2 separate regions of the Homo sapiens genome follow, and region 1 is linked to region 2. The links are contacts of gene promoters, found by promoter capture Hi-C in blood cells and fetal thymus (Javierre and others, 2016). All regions are on one chromosome and are shown on one strand. Each heading gives the region's core, a stretch centred on a gene start or on the middle of the fragment in contact. The rest is flanking DNA. Distances are from core to core; before and after follow the strand shown.

Region 1 (5,130 bases), core at 1,961-4,460, 530 kb before region 2:
TACCCACTGGTGTCAGGTTGGCTGGGTGACTTTCAGCCAATGGGATATGAGTGGAGGTGGTATGTGCTAATTCTGGGCAGACCCATTAAGGGCCCTTCTGTGGTCACCCTTTGGTCTCCCTTTTTGTGATACTATGGATAGTCTTTATTTATTATTCTCCAAGGGTTGTGCCTCACCTTCCCTTTTTACTGCTGCCCCAAGACCATCAGGTTTCCACAAGGGGGTTGCTTCTTTAGCCTTAATCCTGGAATGAAGTGATGAGGGTCAGAGCCAGAGCTGAGCTGCAAGTGTGTGTCACATTCCAGAGGAAGGAATGGTTGTTACTCTAAGACATGGACTTTTGAGGTCATCTGTTATCATAGCATAGTGTAGCCTAAGCTGACCACAGCAAGGCATCTCACCTTTCGACATGTTAGTTTGCTCATCCATAGAAGTGGATTAATAGTTGTAGTCGCATGGCAAAAACCCATCCCTACAAAAAAAAAAAAAAATTAGCCAGGCATGGTGGTGCACGACTGTAGTTCCAGCTACTCAGGGGGCTGAGGCGGGAGGATCATCTGGGCCTAGGGAAGTTGAGGCTGCAGTGAGCTGTGATCACACCACTGTACTCCAGCCTGGGTGACAGAGTGAGATCCTGTTTCAAGAAAAAAACATATCTGTAGTCATGTTATTGGGTTTTGTGAAAATTAGGTGAAATTGCTCAGTAAAAGCACAGTTTCTAGCCCAATGTGTGTCTGCACTTTGCAGATGTTCAAGACTCTTCTTCCAGTCCCTTTCTCTGTCATACTTATTTCTCCCCAGGGCCTTTGCATGTCCATGCTCTTCCTTTGCCTGAGGCTTTTTCTCATTTCCTTCTTTACTCAAGATCCCATATGCAGACCTAGCTCCCCCAGGGGGCCAGATAAGGATGGGCTTAGAGCCCCAGAAAAGTCAGGACAGGAAAGGGATGAGAAAGGTTGCACTTCAGCAACCAGAATCAGGAAATCTAGAAGAGAGTTCCTTTAACCTCAACATGTGCATATATTTTGTGCTTTATGGTTTTGCATTCTTTTAATTTTGATTTACATCGGGTATCTTGGCTGGGCGTGGTGACTCATGCCTGTAATCCCAGCACTTTGGGAGGCCAAGGCAGGTGAATCACTTGAGGTCAAGAATTTGAGCTCAGCCTGGCCAACATGGTGAAACCCCATCTCTACTAAAAATACAAAACTTAGCCAGGCGTAGTGGTGGGCGCCTGTAATCCCAGCTACTTGGGAGGCTGAGGCACCAGAATCACTTGAACCTGGGAGGGCGGAGGTTGCGGTGCTGAGATCATGCCACTACACTCCAGACTGGGCGACAGAGTGAGACTCTGTCTCAAAAAAAAAAAAAAAAAAGTGACATAATTAAAAGAGCCATCATCTATGGCCTTTAAGTGTCATGTGTGTGCTCATCTTTCCTTGCTTTACTACTCAAAGATTATCTTTTCCATGTGACCTGCTCTTTCCTGCCTCTGTCACCACCAAACATCAAAGCCTTAAGTTTTGTTTGGCTGTTTGTTATCTCTTGAGAATTGAGCACCAGAGCTATTGGGTGGGCTTGATGTTGACCTACAATGCAGGATGTCTGTGGGCATGACTCTCTCCTAGGCACTCACAGACACTTGAAGCTGGGGACTGAGGTCCTCTAGTGTGTGTCTGTGGGGGTGAAGGAGTGCACCCTCATCCTCCTGCACTTTCGGGTCTTGTAGCAGCAACTCCCTGTTTCTGTCCTTTCTACTTACTGCTGGTTTCATCACACTCCCAGGGTTAATTTAAAGAACCAGCCTCGGTGTGATGCACCTACAACAAACAGAGCCACTTCTGTGGGGAGCTCTGGAGCTGGGATGGCCCCTCAGAGTCTAGAGGTGGTGAGAGCGCTGGAGCTTCATCACCGTGCTAACTGTGTCCCTGGAAGAGTGAGGGAGCTTGAGTGATTCCTTACCCAAGGGCCGTCATAAAAGGTCTCAGCTGATGCCTACTGCCGATCACATTCAGCTATTTGGGAAGAGATGTTCAGTCCTTAAGAGGACATTATTAGTGGACATCACTCTTTCCACAAAAGCCCCAGTCTTGTGTTACTTAGTCCCACTAGCTTCTTTAAAGAAACCCCAAGAGCATTTCCTCCAGGAATCTGTTTGATCTCTTTTCCTGGGGGAGATTTCCAGGTGATTCTCATTGGAATGAATCCTAGGTCCTGTTGCTGCTGCTGGTCTCACACTGTGACTGATGCTAAGTCCTTCTCTTCCACCACCATTCTGGATTTTCCTTGCTATAGCCTAAGTGTTTATGTCTCCCCAAATTGTCAGCGTTGGAGCACCAAGAAGACAGGCAGCACTGACAGTAGCAGAAGAGTAGGAGGTGGCTGTGGCACCCCACGCCGAGCAGGAGCGGGAGGAGTTCCTGGGCGATGGGGCCGCAGCCTGGGCCGATGCTGACCATGGGATGAGATCATTCTTCACTCTGCACCGTGACCATCAGGGGGCGCCCCAACCACCTTTTCTGCCCCACATCGTGCTCTTGCAGTGTTCTCCCCGCAGGTGCTGCATGGAGTGAGTGGCGGCATCCACCGTGAGGAGGAGAGGAGCTCTGATACCCTCAGGACCCGCCAGGAGGGGCATCACGGAGGCTTCTGGACGACTTGGAGCTGTGTCCTGGGGAGAAAACCGCTCCTGTCTGGGCCCTGAGTGCTGAGGAGGAAGCTGCCATGCACTTTTCCCTGGCATTTTTCCTGCATGGTGAGTACAGAAGCTTTAGTTTTCTGGTATGTTCTGTTCATTCCTCTCCTGTTCTCCCTGGTTTTCCTCTTTCTCTTGTAGTGTTTTAGTATTTATTTTACAGTGGTATTCATTCTCTGAAGGCTTTTGAGGGTGTCAAGTGTAGCAGACTGTGGTATTTTTAGGGGTTTAAGACTTTTTCTGGGTGGGGGGGAGGGGGGAGGGATAGCATTAGGAGATATACCTGATGCTAAATGACGAGTTGATGGGTGCAGCACACCAACATGGCACATGTATACATATGTAACAAACCTGCATGTTGTGCACATGTACCCTAAAACTTTAAAGTATAATAATAATAAAAAAATCTTGGTTTTTATTAAAAATAAATAAATAAATAAATACATTTCTAGTTCTGAAAAAAAAAAAAAAAACCAAACCAACAACAGAAAAAGACTTTTTCTGAGGGAACCTCCCCTGTGTAGAGGGAGAGAGAGGGAAGCCCCGCTCAGGTTGGAGTCAGGGCCAGGCCCAGTTCTGGCTGGCTGCCTCGTGTCCAAGCCTCAGAGGGAGGATTTGCATTGGGCCTTGCTGCATTTTTAAATCTTCGTTCCTGCCATCAGGACCCAGGGGTCACTCTTCTTCACTTTTGGGCAGCGCGTGTCCTCTCGTGTCCCTCCCACCGTGGCCGCCTGACCAGGGGCGAGGGACTCCTCGGTGTGGGTTTTTTGTCCTCTTTGCAGAAATGTCTGTTCTGGGCCTCTGCCCAGTTTGGGGTGGATTATTTTTTGTTGTTGTTTTAAATTGCTATTTAGTACTGTTAATGTGTTGTATATTTTCGGTAAGAACCCCTTAGCAGTTATATGATTCCTCAAAACTTTCGTCCAAACTTCGGGCTCATTTTTTCCGTTGTGGCACAGAAGCTTTTCAGTTTCTTGTAGCCTCACATGGTTGTTCTTGCTTTCCTTGCTTGTGATTTTGGTCCCCAATTTAAAAAAATCATTCACAAACCATTCCATTCTCCATGAGGTTTTTACCCCTTATGTATTCCTCTTTTTCTTTTTGAAACTCTTTCCAACTGATGAGCATGGATTCAAGTTGTCCTGAAAGTAAGCTCCCCCTATCTTTTCTTACAGGAATTTAATAATGTTTTGTGGTTTCAGGTTTTGTGTTGAAATCTTTAATCCATTTTGAGTTGATTTTTGTGTATCGTGTAACAGAAGGGTCCTATTTCTTTTCTTTTCTTTTTTGCATATGGATATCAGTTTCCTCAAAATGATTTCATGAAGAAACTCTCCTGTCCCCATTGTGTCTTTCTGATCTCTGGTGCCGATTTCATTTGCTCTGGAGTTATACCCAGTAGTGGGATTGCTAGATCTTACAGTATTTGCATTTTCTGTCATTTTCTTTGAGACGGGGTTTCTTCTGTCACCCAGGCTGGAGTGCAGTGGTGCAATCACAGCTCACTGTGGCCTCTACCTCCACAGCCCAAGCAGCCCTCCCACCTCAGTCTATGGTAGCTGAGACCACAGGCACACACCACCATGCCTGGCTAAGTTTTTAAATTTTTTGTAGAGACAGGGTTTTGCCATGTTGCCCAGGCTGGTCTCGAACTCCTGAGCTCAAGTAATCTGCCCACATTGACCTTCTGGTAATTGTATTTTCAGTTTTTTGAAAATGGCAACTTCCAACTTTTTACCATAGAATATGTACTAATTTATCTTCCCATCAACAGGGTATAAGAGTTCCCTTTTCTCCAAATCCATACCAGCATTCTTTTTAAAATTTTGTGGCCAGGAACAGTGGCTCATGCCTGTAATCCCAGCACTTTGGGAGGATGAGGCATGGTGGTGTGCACCTGTAGTCCCAGATACTTGAGAGGCTGAAGTGGGATGATCACCTGAGCTAGGGAGGTCAAAGCTGCAGTGAGCTGGGATCACGACACTGCACTTCAGCCTGGGTGACAAAGTCTGAGTCCCTGTCTCAAAAAATTAAAAAAAAACTTTTTAGTAACATTTATTTCAATAAAAGTGAAACGGCATCTGAATGTGGTTTTGAGGTACATTTTTTTTCTGATGAGAGACGTTGAGGACCGTTTCTCTTACATGTTGGTCAATTTTGTGTCATCTTTGCAGAGATGTCTACTCAAGTTCTTTGTATTGGTTTGGATATGTATTTTGCTACATTGTATTTTTTTTCTGTGTATATGTTTGATAACAACCAGTGATTGAGTTATCGCTTACATGATTCCCTTTCTTTTTTTTTTTTTGAGACAGAGTCTCATTCTCTCACCCAGGCTGGAGAGCACAGTAGCACATCACATGACCATATATATTGGCTACCTACAGCTTTGCAATGTAATTTGCTATCAGGAATTGTGAGTCTCCCAACTTAGT
Region 2 (4,586 bases), core at 1,134-3,633:
CATGGGGAAACCCCGTCTCTATTAAAAATACAAAAATTAGCCGGGAGTGGTGGCACGCGCCTGTAATCCCAGCTACTCGGGAGGCTGAGGCAGGAGCGTGGCTTGAACCCGGGAGGCGGAGGTTGTGGTGAGCCGAGATCGCACCACTGCACTCTAGCCTGGGCGATAGAGCGAGACTCCGTCTCAAAAAAAAAAAAAAAAAAAAAAAAGAATCTCCTACCCTTCCCAGAGATTGCCATTGTAAACTTTCTGGGTTGTGTCCTTCCAGTGTTTTCTCTAAGCAAATAAACACACCCAACTCCCTTTCTCCCCAACCCAACTTTTTTGTGTGTTGTTTTGAGAACATAAAGATGATTATATCAATGTTATCACATTCTAGTAGTTTCTTAGCAGTGCGAATGAAAATTTTCATATTATTAGCTATTTTTATTCTTTTTCAAATTGCCTATTGATCTTTTGCAGATTTTTCTAAGAGCAGGCATTTTCTTGATTTGTTGATTTTTTTTTTTTCTTGAGCTCTAGACACTAAGAAAATGAAAGAAAGCATATACACTAAGGCTTCATTTGAGAAAACATTATCTCCAGTTTCCATCTTGAGCTCTCTGCCAGGCTACAGCTTTTACATTCATAACTTCACTGTTTTCTCTTTGGTCCAGAAAAGCTTTCCTTACCCATGACTGTATAAATAGTCATTATGGTTGGCAGCCACAGTTTCCATTGCAATGTGACAGTCTTGATTTTTCCCATGGAAAGTGTGGTATTTGTGTCCGGGCTATGAAATTGGTAATGTCATTCCTGTTTCACAGATGAGGAAACTGGGGTTCAGAGAGCGAAAGTGTGGTCCTGCCAGGAGTAGTGGAGCTAAGACTGAACCTCACACCTCGGGGCCAGCACCCAGGCCTGCTATGTCCTCTCTGTCCCTGACCTAGTGGGTAGCCAGAGCTGAGAGGACAGAGCAGAGCTTGAGAGGAACAATATTTCGTGAGGCATGTGAGGATTGAAAGCCTCATAGAGTCCTTCAGCCATGCTCTTGGCATAAGGACTGATGTGTTTATAGTGACTGGTGAATTGTCAGACCTCAACCAACCACCGTTCTCCACTGGAAGCTGATCTTGGAAAGGTCAGAGGTCCCGAGGGTCTGCAGGTGGGAAGGAGGAGACTGACATTTATTGAGCACCTACTTGGTGCCAGACACTGAAAGTATTAGAGATTAAGGGTGACTTGCCTCTGTTCTGGCCCCAAAGAAGCACCATCTGATAGAAAAATAAGTAGCAACATGGTATGGTAGAGTCTGGAATGGGGTTTACTGTGAATTGCGTAGGGCGTGGCAGAATTCACAGTAAAAGGTTTTTGGAAGAAGTGACACCATGGTGGGGTATTACTGAGCAAAGGGGAAAAGGAGGGAGGGAGAGGAGGTAAGAATATACAAGGCTCCGCTGGGCGCGGTGGCTCAGGTCTGTAATCCCAGCACTTTGGGAGGCCAAGGCAGGCGGATCACAAGATCAGGGAATCGAGACCATCCTAGCTAACACGGTGAAACCCCATCTCTACTAAAACTACAAAAAAATTAGCCGGGCGTGGTGGCGGGCCCCTGTAATCCCAGCTGCTCGGGAGGCTGAGGCAGGAGAATGGCGTGAACACGGGAGGCGGAGCTTGCAGTCAGCCGAGATTGCGCCACTGCACTCCAGCCTGGGCGACTGAGCGAGACTCCCGTCTCCAAATAAATAAATTAATTAATTAAAGAATACACAAGGCTCCACTGGGTTACTGGGTGTGCTGTAGGGAGATTTTATTGAATCCCATACTCCCATATTGGAAGAACACTCAAGCCCATTTACAGTGTGGGACTAATGCTGAGAGGTTGAGTCACATTGGCAGGAAAGAGCAGAGCCAGGAACTGAAGCTAGGTCTGTGACTTAGAGCCGGCACTCTTTCCACTGCAGAGGGGAGAGGTCTCAAGGCAGAACCTGGGGCTGTGCACACCGCGGGAAGGGCAGAGGCCCCTGGAAACGAACAGGAGCAGGAGGCCCAGGGCTGCGCAGCAACCAAGGAGGACACGAGGAAGGTGCTTGTGCCACCGGTGGAAGACGTGGCTTTGGCTTTTAGGCTCCCCTCGGGGCAGGAGCAGATCAAAGAGCCTAGCCCCAGCTTCGGTGGTGGGTGGGGGGTCCTCCCGGCAGCGGGGAGCGTGGGCACCAGCATCCTCAGCCTGCGGCTCCCAGGCGAGTGTGGGAGGGCAGAGCCCAGAGAATTGGAGGTGGGGCCAATGTGGGCCCCGCCCCCAACCATTGTGTCGGAGAGGGAAGTGGACGAGCTCCTCGGTAAGAACCAATGAGGATGTGGTATGCAAATAAGCAAGTGGAGGCCGCCAGCCGACTTCCTCGCACTGTGCAGCTGCTCCAGTGAGGGCGCAGACTGTACTGGCCTGTGCGGAGCAAGGCGGTGTTTCTGGTGAGTCTGTTGATTCTGGGCTGGGGTGAAAGCCAGGTTGCCCAGGGTTTGGGAGGAGGGCGGGTCGAGCACACGCAGATCCAAAGATGATCGGAGACAGGATTGTCCTCAGCGATTCCACCCCGATGACTCTGGAAACTGCCTGCCTGCAGACGCATGGGGGCCATGGAGCAGAGGAAGGGCTGGATGCATGAAGGAGGCGGGGTGCGGGGAGCGAGGGACCCGCAGACTCCAGGGCCACAGATGCGTGGACCTATTGGAGACCCTCAGGTTGTCTCCCCACCCCACGCAGAGAGGAATGCGCAGCTGAAGAGAGAGGTGGGCAGCAGGCCCGGTCACCTGCCAGGTGACCACATGGCCAGGTGCCGCCACCACTCGGGTTACCTGGCCGATGACGAGGCCAGCCACTCCATGTGCAGTGCACGGGTAAGTGTGCCCAGCAGGGCGCCGACCCTTGAGGCCACAACATGTTCCCCACCAACCCTGGCACCCAAGACCACAACCCCCATTTCTCATTGTCTATTGACTTCTCTGGGCCTCTTAGTGAAGTCCTTATTGCCTTGACTTCTCCTATGTCCCCCACTGCTTGCCCCTGTCACACTCAATTTCATTCCTTGTTTCCTCCTGACTTCCAGCGACCCAGAAGGTGCTTGGGTGGACTGGGACCCTAGAGTGGGAGCATGGAGTTGACTAGGTGCCTATGGCTCAAGTTGGAGAAACAGGCCCGGGTAGCACAGGGCTCAAGACCTCAGGTGTTGTCTGCACTCAAGACCTCAGATGTTGTTTGCAGCCCTGCCATGGATACAGGGATGGCCTGCTGCATGGACAGATGAGGAGCTGGAGGGAGACTCCGAGAGATTCATGATTGCTCATCCTGCCACGTGTCAGGGCAGAAGCAGGCTTGCAGACTCCTTAGCCAGGACTTGTGTGTGTGAAATGTAGGTGTTAGGAAAGCTTCGGGGTGACCCTGAATAGACCTCCACTTTGCAGATGAGGACATTGGACCTCAAGAGGGGCCATCTTGCACACTGGCATCAGGCTGTAGGTGGCAGAGCCAGGGTCCAAACCCAGGGCTTCCAGACTCCAAAATGCAGCTCCTTCCACTACTCACTCCCACCCAGGTCCTAGTGTTACCCCAGGGAACCCTTCACCTGTAGGGCACCCCTGCCCCCTGTGACATACCTGTCTGCTCAGGTGCAGCTGCCCAAGAAGCCACTGGTCCCAGAAATGCGGCCAGCCTGCAAGCCGGGCCGTGTGCCACACCCACCATCCACATGTGGCAGCTCAGCACTCCAGGGCCAACGCCGAAACAAGAGGCACCCTCAGCCCTTTGGCCACTTTCTGGATTTCCTAACTGAGAGCCAGGTCCTGGACAGCCTGGAGACAGTGGTGGAGAAGGCGACTGAGCGCATGGCTGCCATGAAGACGGAGGCTGGGGTGCCGCTTGTGGAGGTGCAGGACCCAGTGGAGGTGCCAAGTGGTGGACGGCGGGCACATGCCCGGCCCAGCCTCAGCACCGTACACCGGCACCGTGTACGGCCGACCCTCTGCACTGGACACCCCAACAACTACCCATCCAGCTCCAGCTCCATGTCCAACTGCCATAGCAGCCTCATGGCCGGCTGTCTGGGCTCCCACAGCCGGGACAGTGACCTAGGTGCCCAAGGCTCATTGCCACCTGTGAGGGACAAACTCCTGCTGGAGAAGAACCTCAAGCGGCTGCTACAGCTGGAGAGGGAAGGGGTGAGAGCCAGGGCCATGGCTGGGTGGGGTGGACTCCCATGGAGAGCCCAGGGCTAGGGTCAGCCCTGGCTTGGCTGCTCCTGAACACTTCACAGAGTCACCCTCTTTCTGCAGAAAGGCCTCAGTCAGTCCTGCTCCCAGAGGGACTCCCTGCTGTGGGATTCGCTGGGTAGCCAGACCAGCTTTCAGTGGACACAGGAGCAGCCCTTGTCCTGGTTCTCAGGGCTGCTGGGCTCAAGCTCTGGCGTGCCTGAAGCATCAGAGCCGAGGCCTGGAGAACAGGAGCCAATCTTCCGCAAGCGAGAGTTCAATAAGGAGATCAAGTCATTACTGAGCCAGCTGGAGTCCCTCGACCTGCCTGGCTACTGTCCGCTCCGTGAGCCCCATCGCAC

What was found. Contacts are between HindIII fragments. The CHiCAGO score rates a contact against its expected background, and 5 or more counts as called.
Region 1: a contact is called between a fragment that was not itself captured here and the fragment with the promoter of CCDC116 in region 2, in 5 of 17 cell types (endothelial precursors, naive CD4 T cells, M1 macrophages and 2 more). The highest score is 6.9, in endothelial precursors.

What each region holds. Positions count from the first base shown.
Region 1 is chr22:21,100,472-21,105,601 of GRCh38, forward strand. It overlaps the pseudogene BCRP2. Among named protein-coding and RNA genes, the nearest start is that of LRRC74B, 57 kb to the left of the region's middle. RefSeq lists enhancers at 1,941-2,912, 2,361-2,410. The HindIII fragment of the contact is 889 bases long and covers 2,767-3,655 here.
Region 2 is chr22:21,630,377-21,634,962 of GRCh38, forward strand. CCDC116 (coiled-coil domain containing 116) reads left to right here and starts at 2,384. Exons shown (of 5, transcript NM_152612.3): 1 at 2,384-2,451; 2 at 2,744-2,877; 3 at 3,646-4,194; 4 at 4,309-4,586. The coding sequence starts at 2,806. RefSeq lists an enhancer at 2,116-2,615. The HindIII fragment of the contact is 2,744 bases long and covers 660-3,403 here.